Regions from separate parts of the Homo sapiens genome. Here region 2 is linked to region 1. Evidence: promoter capture Hi-C in 16 types of primary human blood cells and fetal thymus (Javierre and others, 2016). All regions are on one chromosome and are shown on one strand. The core of a region is centred on a gene start or on the middle of the fragment in contact, and the rest is flanking DNA. Distances in the headings are between cores, read along the strand shown. Region 1 holds the start of CNRIP1 (cannabinoid receptor interacting protein 1). Region 2 holds the start of LOC105374792 (a long non-coding RNA gene).

Evidence for each region. Contacts are between HindIII fragments. The CHiCAGO score rates a contact against its expected background, and 5 or more counts as called.
Region 2: a contact is called between a fragment that was not itself captured here and the fragment with the promoter of CNRIP1 in region 1, in 1 of 17 cell types (neutrophils). The highest score is 5.5, in neutrophils.

Annotation. Positions count from the first base shown.
Region 1 is chr2:68,316,701-68,323,288 of GRCh38, forward strand. It overlaps CNRIP1 (cannabinoid receptor interacting protein 1), which reads right to left and starts at 3,249. Exons shown (of 3, transcript NM_015463.3): 1 at 2,522-3,249; 2 at 457-607. The coding sequence starts at 2,700. The HindIII fragment of the contact is 3,613 bases long and covers 1-3,373 here.
Region 2 is chr2:68,881,676-68,888,263 of GRCh38, forward strand. It overlaps LOC105374792 (a long non-coding RNA gene), which reads right to left and starts at 354. Exons shown (of 3, transcript XR_940227.3): 1 at 283-354. The HindIII fragment of the contact is 3,782 bases long and covers 1,903-5,684 here.

The sequences.
Region 1 (6,588 bases), core at 1,999-4,498:
ATTATAGGATATTATATAAGAGGTGTATTTTTCCCATGACACTTTTTTTGGCTCCTCCATTTAGCTTTAAGTAGCAAAGTGTCATTCAAATCAGCTTTCTCTTAACCAGAATATTGTGGCCTACTTGGAATCAGAAACTTTTCACAGCCAATTATCTAAACCAGTTCTGAAGTAGACTATAACTGGGAAAATGGCAATGTAGGTTCTGTCTCTTCCAGAACCATCTGCTTCTGCTTATGGTGTCTTTTCAGCATCTACAGGGTCAGTCTGTCATGCAAAAGAGCATTAATTAAGTAGTTCTCTCTCCAGCAGATGCTTGAAGGAAATCCACAACTCAATTTCCACAGTAATTGGCTCCCAACACACCTTTTCTTACAGAGAGATAGTGATTGTTTTCTTTTCTGTGGTTTCCATTTTCCATGGCACCATACTCCTATACCCGCAAGCAAGCCTTACCGGCATGGTGATCTGGATGGGTTGCCGTTCTCCACTCTTCGTTGGGGTCACACCTTCTGTGTCATATGTACCCGTATAAACAACTCTGTCCCCATCAGGCTCTTTAGACTTCAGTTCCAGTGGGACAAGCACACCACCAATGGAAATATTCCTGCAATAGACTTGAGTTGACCACATACGGTTGAAATTAGCCTAGGCACCCTGTCCTGTTTTGGACCAAAACTCTAGGCAGGAAACTTACAGGGTTTCACTAAGGGGGGCATTGTGGTGCGGGAGAAAGTTCTGCAAGTTCAGGGGGCAGTGCTTCTCCTATTTATGAATTAAAAACCTACCTATCCCCAGCCCCAGACATTAGGATTCAGTTGGCCTGGGATGTAGTTTGGACACTGGTACATTTATTTTAAGGTTATCTAGGTGATCTTAATATGCAGGTAGGATTGAGAATACTGAACTCGTCCTCTAATATTTTTTTTCTCCTGTTCCAACAATCAGGGGTCCTATGATTTGGAGTACCTCAAGCCTTCTACACCATCAGAAATTCTCACTGGCATCATTCTTTTGTGTTAGGATAATGGTTCTCAAAGCCAAGTCCCTGGACCAGCAGTATCAGCATCACCTGCAGACCTTAGAAAACAAATTCTTAGGCCCTACCATAGACTAAACTAGAACTTCTAGGGAGAGCTCCAGCATCTGTGTTTTAACAAGCACTCCAGGTGATTCTGATATATACTCAGGTTTGAGAACCACAGGATTAGAGTTGAGAAATCCTTGATAGCATTAAAATGTAACCAGAAAAAATAGTTTTATTCCTAACAAATTAACTTTTAGATTAGTTTGAACACTAGAGGAATACTCTAAAAAAAAAAAAAAGAAATATATTAACAGATAACTCCGGGGATAAGGTTGGCAGGAAAGAAGGGAAAGGAAAAGCCTGGATTATATCCAGGTGCACAGAACACTGGGAAATGTGAGAATAAAGGGTGCATGGAGCTGTGGGGGATGCTGACAAATAGATGAATCAGGAGTACCAGAAACCATCCAGATTTGGTTCTAGGTCCTTGCACCTTGGAAGGCTAATACAAGTTTACTGAATTAAAACGTAAGCTATAAGTAGTATCTGATGAATTCAAAGTCCTTCCACCCCCGCAATAATGCCCACCATATGTAGTAGATACAATAAATGCTGGTTTATTTTCTCTCTGCAGACTAGACTTTGGTAGGTAGAAACGAGAGGTAAAGGGGCTCCACCCGCAGTTCTTCCGGGTAGGCTACTGCATGCTCCCACACACTTTCCCGCCAGAGGTCTACTGGGTGCATTATCCAGCGGTCGCTGGCAAGAAATCGTCCCTGCCATGGATAAACCAAAAAACATCCTCTTGCTGTGGGGATGTTGCTAATCCCAGGCACCATCACCAGCCTGAACAGAAAACTCAGGAGAAAAAGAACAGCATACGGCATGGAAAACCGTGAAACTAGGCCAGAGAAGGGGCGGCCGCTCTCTTACTAGTGTCTGCTGCTCCACCCCAGGGTCCCAGCCACTGAATGGCGAAGGGAGTGGGGAGCATCCCTCAGGGAGCCCCAGTAATCACCCCTCCCCTGCCTTTCCACCTCATTCCTCCTTTCTCCCTCCTTCAGCCTTGCGGGCAGACCCTGTGGGCCGCCTGGACCGCGCGCAGGAGGGCTGGGATTGCGGTGGCTGAACCCTGCGGACCTCTCCCATCTGCTCCACCCCGACCGCCTGCGGTTCCGCGCCCAAGGCTGGACAGAAGGCAGGAGAAATTTATAAGAAACAGACAAGCAAAAACCCTGGCTTCTTGTCACTGATTTTAAAGAACCCACTGAGGTCACTGCGATGGGTGGAGGGAAGCGAGAATGGAGGAATACAAGCCAAAGGGAAGGAAGGGGACGAAGGCGGACAGGGAGTGACCTCTTCCTCCAACCCCCGGGCCCGCTGGGAGCGGCGCGAGGCCAGAGGCCCTTGAGAGGCTCGGGCTGTCCTGGGGGCCTCAGTCCTCTGCCTGTACCCCATGGGGGACCCTGCTGCCACCAGGCGCCCCGCACTCACTCGACCTGCAGCGTGCTGGGTTTAATCTTCACCTCAACCTTGTAGGAGGAGCCGGTGAGCAGCTTGATGGTGCGGTTCTGGCCGAAGCGCTGCCCGTCCACCTTGTAAAAGACCGGGCCGTCATTAGGCTGGATGCGCAGCGCGATGGAGAGGCGCACGAGGCCCGGCAGGTCCCCCATGTCTGGGCGAGGGTCTGGCGCGGCGGCTCCGGGGGGCGGAGGACAGCGCCGGCTGCGGCCGAGTGGCTGGAGCGCGAGGGGCGGAGAGGAAGCGCGGGGAGGGTGAGGGAGGTGGTGGAGCTGAGGCTGCCGCTAGGAACCCGCGCCGTCGCCGCCGTCCGCCCGGGCTTTTGAGGAGCAGCTCCTTAGGCTGTGGCCCCCCTCCCCACTCGGCGAGGAAGCGGGCCCAAGAGACGGCTCCAAGGCCGCGCGCTTCCCCATCCCCCGCTCCAGTGCTGCGCCCTCCACGCACCCGAAGGCTCGCTCTGGCCCGCAGGCCGCCGCGCAGATCCGCGCAGCTGGGGGCGAGGGAGTTAATCCTGTTTACGCACCACAATCCCCTTCAGCTGGGGAAGCGGACATTTAGGCTCCTCCTAGAACAGCCCCGGGCAGGAGGAGGAGAGGTTTGGGAGGCACTGGGAAGGCGCTGGAGTTAAGCGACCACTATGCCAAGGAGCGAGACCCCCGGAATCTGGATACCGCCTCGGCCAGCTACGTGAGGTGGACACTGCTGCTCGCGGATCCGGCGCCAGCCAGGCGGGAGGAGGCTGAGGGGGGGTAAAGGGAGGCGGGAAGGGGGGACAGGAAACCGCTAGCCGGTGATTTAAATTTCAGGAAATATGAGTCTTTCCAAAGCTTAGGGGAAATGGCCGAGGAAAGGCGCAATTCCACGTGATGGAGCCACGCTGGATGAGGAATGGATGCAAGAGGAAGAAAATAACCATATTCAAGGAGCTACATCTTCTTGTGGGTGTACATTTCCATTATACGTATGCTCGTCCCAAAAATGACACATACATAAATATATGTAATGAATCACATATATTTACACAGATTTTGAAGGGTGAGCTATTAACCCTGTAAAAGGCAACTGACATGAGCCTAAGGCATTCTGGTGACAAAATGGCCAAGAGGTGGGATGGGTCAAAGGATTATTGGCAGGGGGCCATATGCGACACCGCAGAGTTTAGATTTGCATATTAAGCGTGATTAGACAGTTTTCGTGGCAGAGGTCGGTAGACAGCTGACTTTTGGAAGCGAGGGGAGACTCAGGGGGTGAGGACTATACTGGGAATGGCTTCCCGGAGCAGAGAGAGCACCTGCTTCAGCACCACCCAGATGGATAGTACCAGAGCCAGGGAGCACACCTGGGAAATGAAGTGGGCTAGTGAGAACAAATGGGTAGGGATGCGTTTCCTTGGCAGTTTTTGTTTACCCAAGTTAGACTGCTCTTTTTTAAGAAATAATAAGCTATACATATAATATATATGTAATATGGGTGTTTATTGCAACATTGGTTGCAAAAATAAAAATAAAACCTAAATGAAATGTTAACCAATAAATAAATGGCTGAATAAATTCTTATATACCCACACTATAGAACGTTACACAACTATCAAAATAATGAAATATAGGTTGCATTGGCAAACACACAGGCAAAAACTGTTAATGATAAAAGTGGGATGGCTGGGAAACAAAGCCTGAGGGCGAGCATTTTGTCTGTTTTGTTTGTTGCTGTTTCCCCAGCATGCCAAAATAGTGCCTGACACATAGTAGGTGCTCCAGAAATCGTTGTTGAATTGACTTACGGTTGTGGTCTTAATCATGTCCATATGTAAATTCTTTCACATCTTTAAAATTAATTAGATCCTTGCGATTTACCTGGAATGATGAAAAGAAATCTAATTGCAAGTAGCATCTCTAGTGTTTTAGAAAAATGAAAATTTAAAAAGAATATAAATGTGTATGTTTGTATTAGCTCTTTTAAAAGAATGAGAGAGTTACACAGTAAACTTAATGTTGGTTATTATGGTTTATGAGTAGTGGAAAGAGGGTGAGTATCTTTTTGGGGTCATTTAAAAGCCTTTTTGGAAATTTTGCCTTTTTTCCTCAACCTTTTGTTTAGCAACCCCACAATCTCAAGCCAACTTCCACCTGTGTATCAAAAAGAGCATTGGACCTGGAGGATGATGACTCCATTTTAAAACCTGGTTCTAAGGCCGGCATGGTGGCTCATGCCTGGAATCCCAGCACTTTGGGAGACCAAGGAGGGCAGATCATTTGAGGCCAGGAGTTCAAGACCAGCCTCGCCAAAATGGCAAAACCTGTCTCTACTAAAAATACAAAAAATTAGCCAGGCGTGGTGGCGCATGCCTGTAGTCCCAGCTACTTGGGAGGCTGAGGCATGAGAATCGCTTGAGCTGGGGAGGCAGAGCTTATAGTGAGCCGAGATCATGCCACTGCACTCCAGTCTGGGCAACAAAGTGAGACTCCATCTGAAAAAAAAAAAAAAAACCCACACAAAAACAAAAACAAAAACTCTGGTTCTAGCCTGGCTAGGTAGTGCACTCTTGCAGTCCCCACTACTTGGGAGGCTAAGGTGGGAAGATCACTTAAGCCGACGAGTTTGAGGCCAGTATGGACAAAATAGTAAGACTGCCATCTCATAAATAAATAAAATAAAAAAAACCTAACTCTGCCACTTTTTAGTTTCGTTATGCAAATAACTTAACATCTTTATGTTTCATCTTTGTAAAATGAGGATTAAAATACCTCCTTCCCAACATTGTGAGAATTGAATGAGGAAATGGAAATTGTTTGAAAAAAATAAATTACTTTTCAAATACGAGGTGTTACTAATGCTGGGCAATATCCATTAGGAATAGCATTTTCAGGACCATACAATGTAATGTCTTAAAATGAAATTAATAAATGTAAAAGTAATTGGAAAATTTATCATCACTGATACATATGTGCAAAGAATATGAATATGGAGTCTGATGGATCTGTGTTTGTGTTGCCAGATCTGTGGATTACAAACTGAGTGACCTTGAGCAAAGCTGCTTTAGTCTCTTGGAGCCCCAGTTTCTTCATTTGTAAAATGATGATGGTGACATAGATGATGCATATAGAACCAAATGAAATTGTGTAAACTATGCAAGAATATCAGGCCCATAGAGACACTCAATACATTGTAACTATTTTTATTTAAAAATATACTTGCTGAATATGTAGCAACTTTTAGTTTAGATTCAGGTTTGTTACTGGAGCGTATTGCATGATGCTGAGGTTTGGAGTAGAAATGATCCCATCATCCAAGTCCTCAGTGTCTATTGTTACCAATGGAATGAAGACTACTAGCCAGGGAGGGAGGGAGACAAGTAAGGGTTGAAAAACTGTTTTATGTCCATGGGTACCCAATGGTTAGCACCCACTAAAAATGAGAACATGCGGTATTTGGCTTTTTTTTCCTGCATTAATTCATTTCTTGCTATATATTTTTAAGGTATCTAGTGCTTTCAGTCTTATTGTAGATTCTTTAATTATTACCTCAGATTGGTGATCTTAAACATTGTCTGTCTAATGGACAATGCTTATTATCATTCTTTTGAAAACTGTGAAATTGAGCCCAAGTGAACGATGGACTTAGTTGTCATTCAGAGGAATCACATGCTATGGTTCAAACGATTCTCCTGCCTCAGCCTCCCAGCTGCTTGTGTTCCCCCAAAATGGCTATGTTGAAACCGAATCCACAAAGCAATAGTATTAAGAAGTGGGTTCTTTTGGAGGTGATTAGGTCATAAGGGCTCTTCTGCCCACGTGAATGGGATTAGTAGTACCCTTGTAAAAGGGGCTTGAGGGAGGTCGTTTGCCCCCTTCTACCATGTATGGATGCAGCGGGAATTTGCCATCTATAAAGCAAACAGTGAACCCTCACCAGATACCAAATTTGCTGGTGCCTTGACCTTAGACTTCCAAGCCTCCAGAATCGTAAGCAATAAATTTCTGTTGTTTATAAATTATCCAGGCTAAGATATTTTGTTATAACAGCATGAACAGACTAAGACA
Region 2 (6,588 bases), core at 2,544-5,043, 570 kb after region 1:
ATGCTGAAACTAAATTTCAAGAGAGAAATTAGGTATAGAGTTTTAATAGTAACAATATACCATATATATTTATACTTTATTATTAGCACCAAAATTTTTACTTAGTGATACAATTCAAGACATGTATAAATCCCAATATTTATAAATAGTACTAAAACATATCATTTCCCCTTTAAAATTCAATAAAATATTGCATAAATTTCAAGCAACTCCTTAAGAATCTTAACCAGTCTATACAAGTAGGACTAGAGTCATTTCCATAATTATTGAAGTCAATCCTACTTTGAATTTCAGCAACACTGAAGAAATATTGTAAAGCTCGGTAGCAAAATAAACTGTGCCTGAAGGATCAAAGGGATGATGGCAAGTGCTGTGAGCTGCTCGTCCATAAGCTGAGCTTCCGAATGAAGAAAATAGATGGTCTGTAGCACCGGAAGCGGTCAAGTTCCCAGATGACAAGGTCCTCACAGTGAGTTAAATGGTGAGAAGAGGGGGAGGACAACTGGGAAGGAGGCTACCAAGGACCAGAGAGAGGGGCCTTGGAGAGACAGTGGTTCTTGCAGGGAAAATGTAAAGATTGGCCCCTGCTTTATTTCCTTTGCTACTTGCTACTCTTTTCTTGGTACAGAGCCAACGAGAGATCAATTTCTCTGTAGAAAAGAGTTCTTTTGTCGCTGAATTTTTACTGTAGAAGATGCCAGGCTCCAGTGTCACACACTCAAGAGTTTTTCTAGATTAATGAATGTCTCAGGTTCCTTGGCCAAATGTTTTAACATTATCTCTCCTCTTTTTTAACCGGTACTGCTCAGACTTCTTCCATCTGTTCCTCTCTAGGACCCTCCGTCAACCCTGTCCCATCATCGACCAAGCCCGTAAACTCTCTTACTGTGCACACACAGTCCACTTGTTTCCATATTCCAAGGAAGGTAACTTCATCCACAGGGTTCTCAACAAGCTGTCAATCTTTGGGGGGTCTCCTTTACAGCAACTTCAATACTTATTATCCAGGCAGCAAAGTGGTGTTCCCACTTCAGCTGTGAATGGAATCTGTAGAGAAATCTCTATTCTTTTTATTCTCAGGAAAATTTTTTTAAACTTTGAATATTTATCTTTTCACCTTCATAACCCAAAAATATCATTTAAAATGTACTGCCAGAATCAGACACAATCTAACCTAGGGTTTCTACTCTTCAGAGTGTTACCCTGTGTTCAGAAAACTTGAACATTGCTCTGATTAGGTGGTTTTTCTTAACCCCTCAAAAACTGTATTTTTGTCATCTGTGAAGTGGGGATAACAGTGGTTGGCATAAAAGCCTTAGTTCTAATAATTGTTATTATGAATGTGCACATCTATTCAGCTCCAGGCTTTTAAATTGTTTATTCTCCCTTTTAAATGGCATCTTGTTTTAAAAGTTAGTATCTTCTGTGTCTTTTATCATGTACTAATCTGTAAGTGATTCAGGTGCTCTTGAAAACTGCTTAGAAAAAGTTGTTTAAACAATTAAATGAATACATAGCTAATTCTTATTTAATGAAAGAATTCCATTCATTAGAATATGTCAATTGATTTATGTCGGCTAATGTAGCTATTAGAAAATGCCATACAACTTTTGACTTCTGGGTACTCATTTGTTAGCCAGCTGTTTGGAACTCAGAACACATTTTCTCATTATGTGATTATGTTGGTTGTTGGATTCTCAGGCAAGTTCATAAAAGTATATTTTAACCACAATGAGGTAGAAGCATACAATACCAATGCCACTATGGAATATAACAGCTAGAAACTAACAGAGATTGCTGAGTATCAATTAAGGTTGTATATTTGAAACATGCTGAGTATCCAAGAGTTTATATAGAAATTGTAAACATCATTTAAATATCATTATTAAATATTATAAATAAAGCTTATTATATTTTCTAAAGAAAAAGAATACACTCTAGAAGAGAAGGTCGAATCCTGAACTCCAACTAAATCCCCATTCCTTTTGCACCTGTGTTTGCCAAAGGAAAACAGTATAAAATAAGGTTAACAAAAAACTGCAGCTTGCAAAAGCAGGAGAAATCTGAGATATCCTGCAGCCTGTCCTCTCACGGATATGTGGATGTGAATGAAATGACCATACTCAACAGAGACAAAGTAAAGGAGAAAGAGTATGGGAATTTACAACCTTGATAATATGGGATTATGAATAGTTTATTTGCTATGTCTTCTCTTCCTCCTATTCTTCTTTCCTTTCTCCTTTTCTTTCTCCTTTCTTCCCTTATGTTCTTCCTTCCACCTTCCCTCCCTCCCTTTCTAAATATATGCTTGGAGTGCTTCAGGTTGTTAACTTAAAATATATGTTACATGTTTTATATGTTTAATATATATATGTATATATTATACACACACACACACACATATGGAAAGAAATCTTGGTTAGTACACTACTCTTTGAAGAGTTTATGTTCATGCCATCTGACCCTCACAGTAATTAAAAGAATAGGTGAGGCAGGCGAAAATCATCCTTTATATAAATTGGGAAACCAAAACCCCAAATGGTGAAATGATTCTTCCCAGATAACAACCTTGTCAAATACCCCTTCCAGTTGTCATGAGAATTGGGGCTGAGGTCTCACAATTAAACTAGGTCTAAGGTAAAGCGAATGAGGAAATAGGCAAGGGATTATTTTCAAGTGGAAAACATGCTGGGTAGCATCAGTACATTAAACTTAGTAGGTTTGTTAATGGTTTTAGTAATTTCAGAGACAATGCAGATTTTAATATTCTATAGAATTTTTGCTGACAGTATTTTTAAAATTAAAATCAATAGGCAAAATGAGACACCCAAACACCCAATCTCTCTCATATTAATGACACCTGACTCTTCCCTATACTACTCCACAAATATTTCTTAAGTTCCATATATACCGCCAAATAAGATGATTCCCTCATTTCCCAAATAAAAAATTCAAAAAGAGATAGATTTTGGGGGAATTTTGTATATATGCCTTTTAAGGATGTAGATGGAAGAGTCAAACGTTTACCTATTTTATTTAATAATTTTACTACATATATATTTTTAATGTTATATAAAATAAAATAAAAAACTAGAATTTTTCCACTTTCACATTTTCTTTTAAAATTGCCTTTAAACTCTCCAAGTGAATCTCAAGAGTGTCATCATTTGAGCCATTTTTTCAGTCATTTAGTTTAGCTTCTAGACTTTATCCTCTTGTAATTGTAACATAAGACTTTGTAAGACCTTAAATATAAAATGACTTCTCTTGTCTGCAGTAGAATTTTGGGGGAAATCCTTGCCTTTCTGTGGTAGAACTTTGGGGGAAATCCTTGGGTCTGTATAACAGATGAAGAGCTTTGTGCTCTGTGACTCCAGGACAGAGTATTTCCCCTTGGGTTAAACAGTCCAGTCTCTGACCGTCCCAGGGAATGGGGCTGCCTACATGCAACACTGGGAAAGCTGGAGAACTTCAGGTCAGGATGGAAAGCTGTCAATGAGATGAGGTATCAACCTGCAGATACATATTCGAGACATCGCTTTACAAGGCCAGAAACCAGGCCTTGCTTCAGTATATGGCCATGGTTCCCTTGCTAGCTGCTTTCTGGCAGTGGTGATAAGATTCCACAGAGTATCTGCTTGAAATGTTACACATTTATTCATCATCATCATTTCAGAACCTTTTTTCAGAGCAGTTGACATTTAGACCTCTGAATGAGGATTATTTTGGAATGGGCCATGTATGGGGAAAAATGTGGATGATGATGGCTGTTCCAGAGATGGCAGAAATGAAGATCTCAGATTGGAAACTAATTTTAGTCATGCTGCACATGCTCATCCCCTGTCACGCTCCTCTATATCTCGCCTCTCACCGAATGGTCTGCTCATGCTGCAGGCAGTGCCCGATAGCATTTATGGGCATCTTCATGATGCTCTTCCCAAAATGTTTTGTAAAAACTTAGCATTGCTCTTTGATACCAATGACTTATGAGAACGACTTGTATCATTCCATTGCCCAAAGAGCATCGACAGATGTCAGGATACTGAAATAGCTGCAGAAGCCGCTGCCAGCACACATTTTGCAAGCAAAATTTGCAGGGTGGCAGATTACAATGACAGAACTTTGGGGAGGAGTATTCATCACAAGATGGAATCAAGTGGTTCACACGTTGGCATTTTCCCAGTTGGTGATTGTTAGTAAATTCAGAGGCATCCTACCAGGCAGATTGCCTCTGCCCAAAGACAGCCTGAATCACCGACACAATAGCATTCTGACGGGAGTGTATTAGGGCAGGACCCACTCATATTTCATATACATGTCTTCTCCTGATGTTTCATATTGCTATTCAATTTTCATGAGTTTATATCTTATCTCCTAATTGGTTTATGATTGGAAATCTAGGACTTGTTTGGGCCACCATTGGAAAGACAGGAGCTTAATGTGGAAATGAGATTCTTGTCCAACAGGTTGAAGATTCTTGACAGGAATCAGAGATAACTGACAAAAGGGGTGGAGATGGGGCCTGCTGGGAGATGTTACTGCTTGAGGAAGATTGTTCTGTACCCTTTGGAATACAAGAAAAGATATGGAAAGGATTTCCTTGGGCTTTTATTAGCATTAACCATTCCTTTCTCTGCTTTCTTGCTCATGTATTCTGCTAACACTTATTAAGCATACACTCTGTGCTAGAAACTTGAATAAGGACTTCTTTGTAGCCCTTATTTTCTCTCCAACTCCTTTAATGTTTTATTTAATACAATATTTAAGAGCACAGTATTTTTGCATCACACAAACCTTTTGATGTATCACACAATAAGACCACTTATTGACAATATCAACTCAAACAGATGACTGAATCTTTCTGAGACTCTGTTTTCCAAAAAATGGAGATCAGAATATTTCCTACCTCATGGGATTGTTGTGAGACCAAATCAAATAGTGATTATAACATATTTTAGGTCCAATTGCTGATAAATTGTAAGCAATTGCTATCATTATTTAGTGCAAGTTTTTTTATTGGACTGAAACTTTTGGATGTCAAAAATGGTAGAATATTGATAACTTCACATGGATCAACTTAATATATGCTTTGTTTTCTAGATGGGTTTATGTTGGTTGTCATCATAAATCTTCTTTATAGTGTAAATGAGAAAAGAACCATGGTGTCCAAAGACTGGAACCAAGCCTCCACATTATAAGTTTATGAAAGCCAGGATTATACTTTGTGTAATTGAGCACTAAACTTGAGGCTCTCTACATAGAAGATGGTAAATGAATATTAGAATAATGAATTCATATGTTTGAGATATTTGGACTTTAGGAAATAGGCAACTATTTTTAATCACTTGATTTTCATTGGCCATAAAATTTCATTTCTGATACCTAAGAGCAAGTTGACACAATCACTTTAAAAACATGAATAGTAAATATTTATGAGCTGGCCTGGTTGAGTTTGGGAACTAGATCTGTCATATACAAACCATCTGACTTCAAATCAGTGATTCTTGATGAAAAACAAGGCTGTGAAAATCATAACATGACAATGGTTAAGGGTGAGGGTTTCATTTATATCTCTGCCTCTCTTCAAAAGATGAAAAGATATCTCAGATTAGAAATAAAAGGAGCTAGAAGGTACAAAGCTCTCTTTCCAGTTAGGGATGAGAGCACCATCAGAAGTGAAAGGAAGCTTGGGATCCCCATACTTCAACCCATACACTAAGCAGCATTACTACCAGGTCTGAAAACCACCCTTAATTGTAGATGTGACTCTGCTCCCTGGTTTTGGTCCAGAAAAGATAGTGACGTGATAGTCGTTTTGGTGCATGATCATTGGATGGGCTCTCTGGCAAAGTCTACTGAAAACCAAACTTGATTGCTGTAAATTTGAATGTAAAACATAAATTAGGAGAACGTTTGCAAATCTATAGAGACCAAAAGTAGATTGGAGGTTGCCAGCGGGATGCTGGAGGGGGAGGTGGGACAGGGGTTGATTGCTAAGTGGTATGAGGTTTCTTTTTGTAGTAATGAAAATGTTCTAAAATTGACTATGATGATGGTTGCACAACCCTGGAAATATACTAAAAGTCATCAAATTATACATTTTAATGGTGTGTTGTAGGGTGTGCAAATTATTTCTCAATTAAGATTTTAAAAATAACAGAAGAAAAAATTCATTTTGAAAACCTTTAATCCTTCCATGAATATATATAACTTCTTTAAGCACTTCGATGTGTAATATTCCAGACTTTTTCCTGTGCTTTGGGAGCTGTTTAGTCAACTACTTTTTAAACTTACCGATATAACCCAAATATCTTTTTATGCCAATGTACATTTATGTAATCTTTATTAAACTGTTGTATAACATTCCAGTTATTTGCATATCCCTAGACTTGCTTAGTGAATCTCTTATTGTTAAATATTCAAATTGCTTCTTTTTATTATTAAAATACTCCTTTGTATCTACAAGAAGAAAAATTAGCAGGGAGAATCCCTGAAAAACGGACTGAATTAACTAAAAACACTGTCAGTGGCGCAAGAGTTGACCTTCTCCTTCCATTAAAATAAAGGTTTGCACTGTGTAAATAGTCT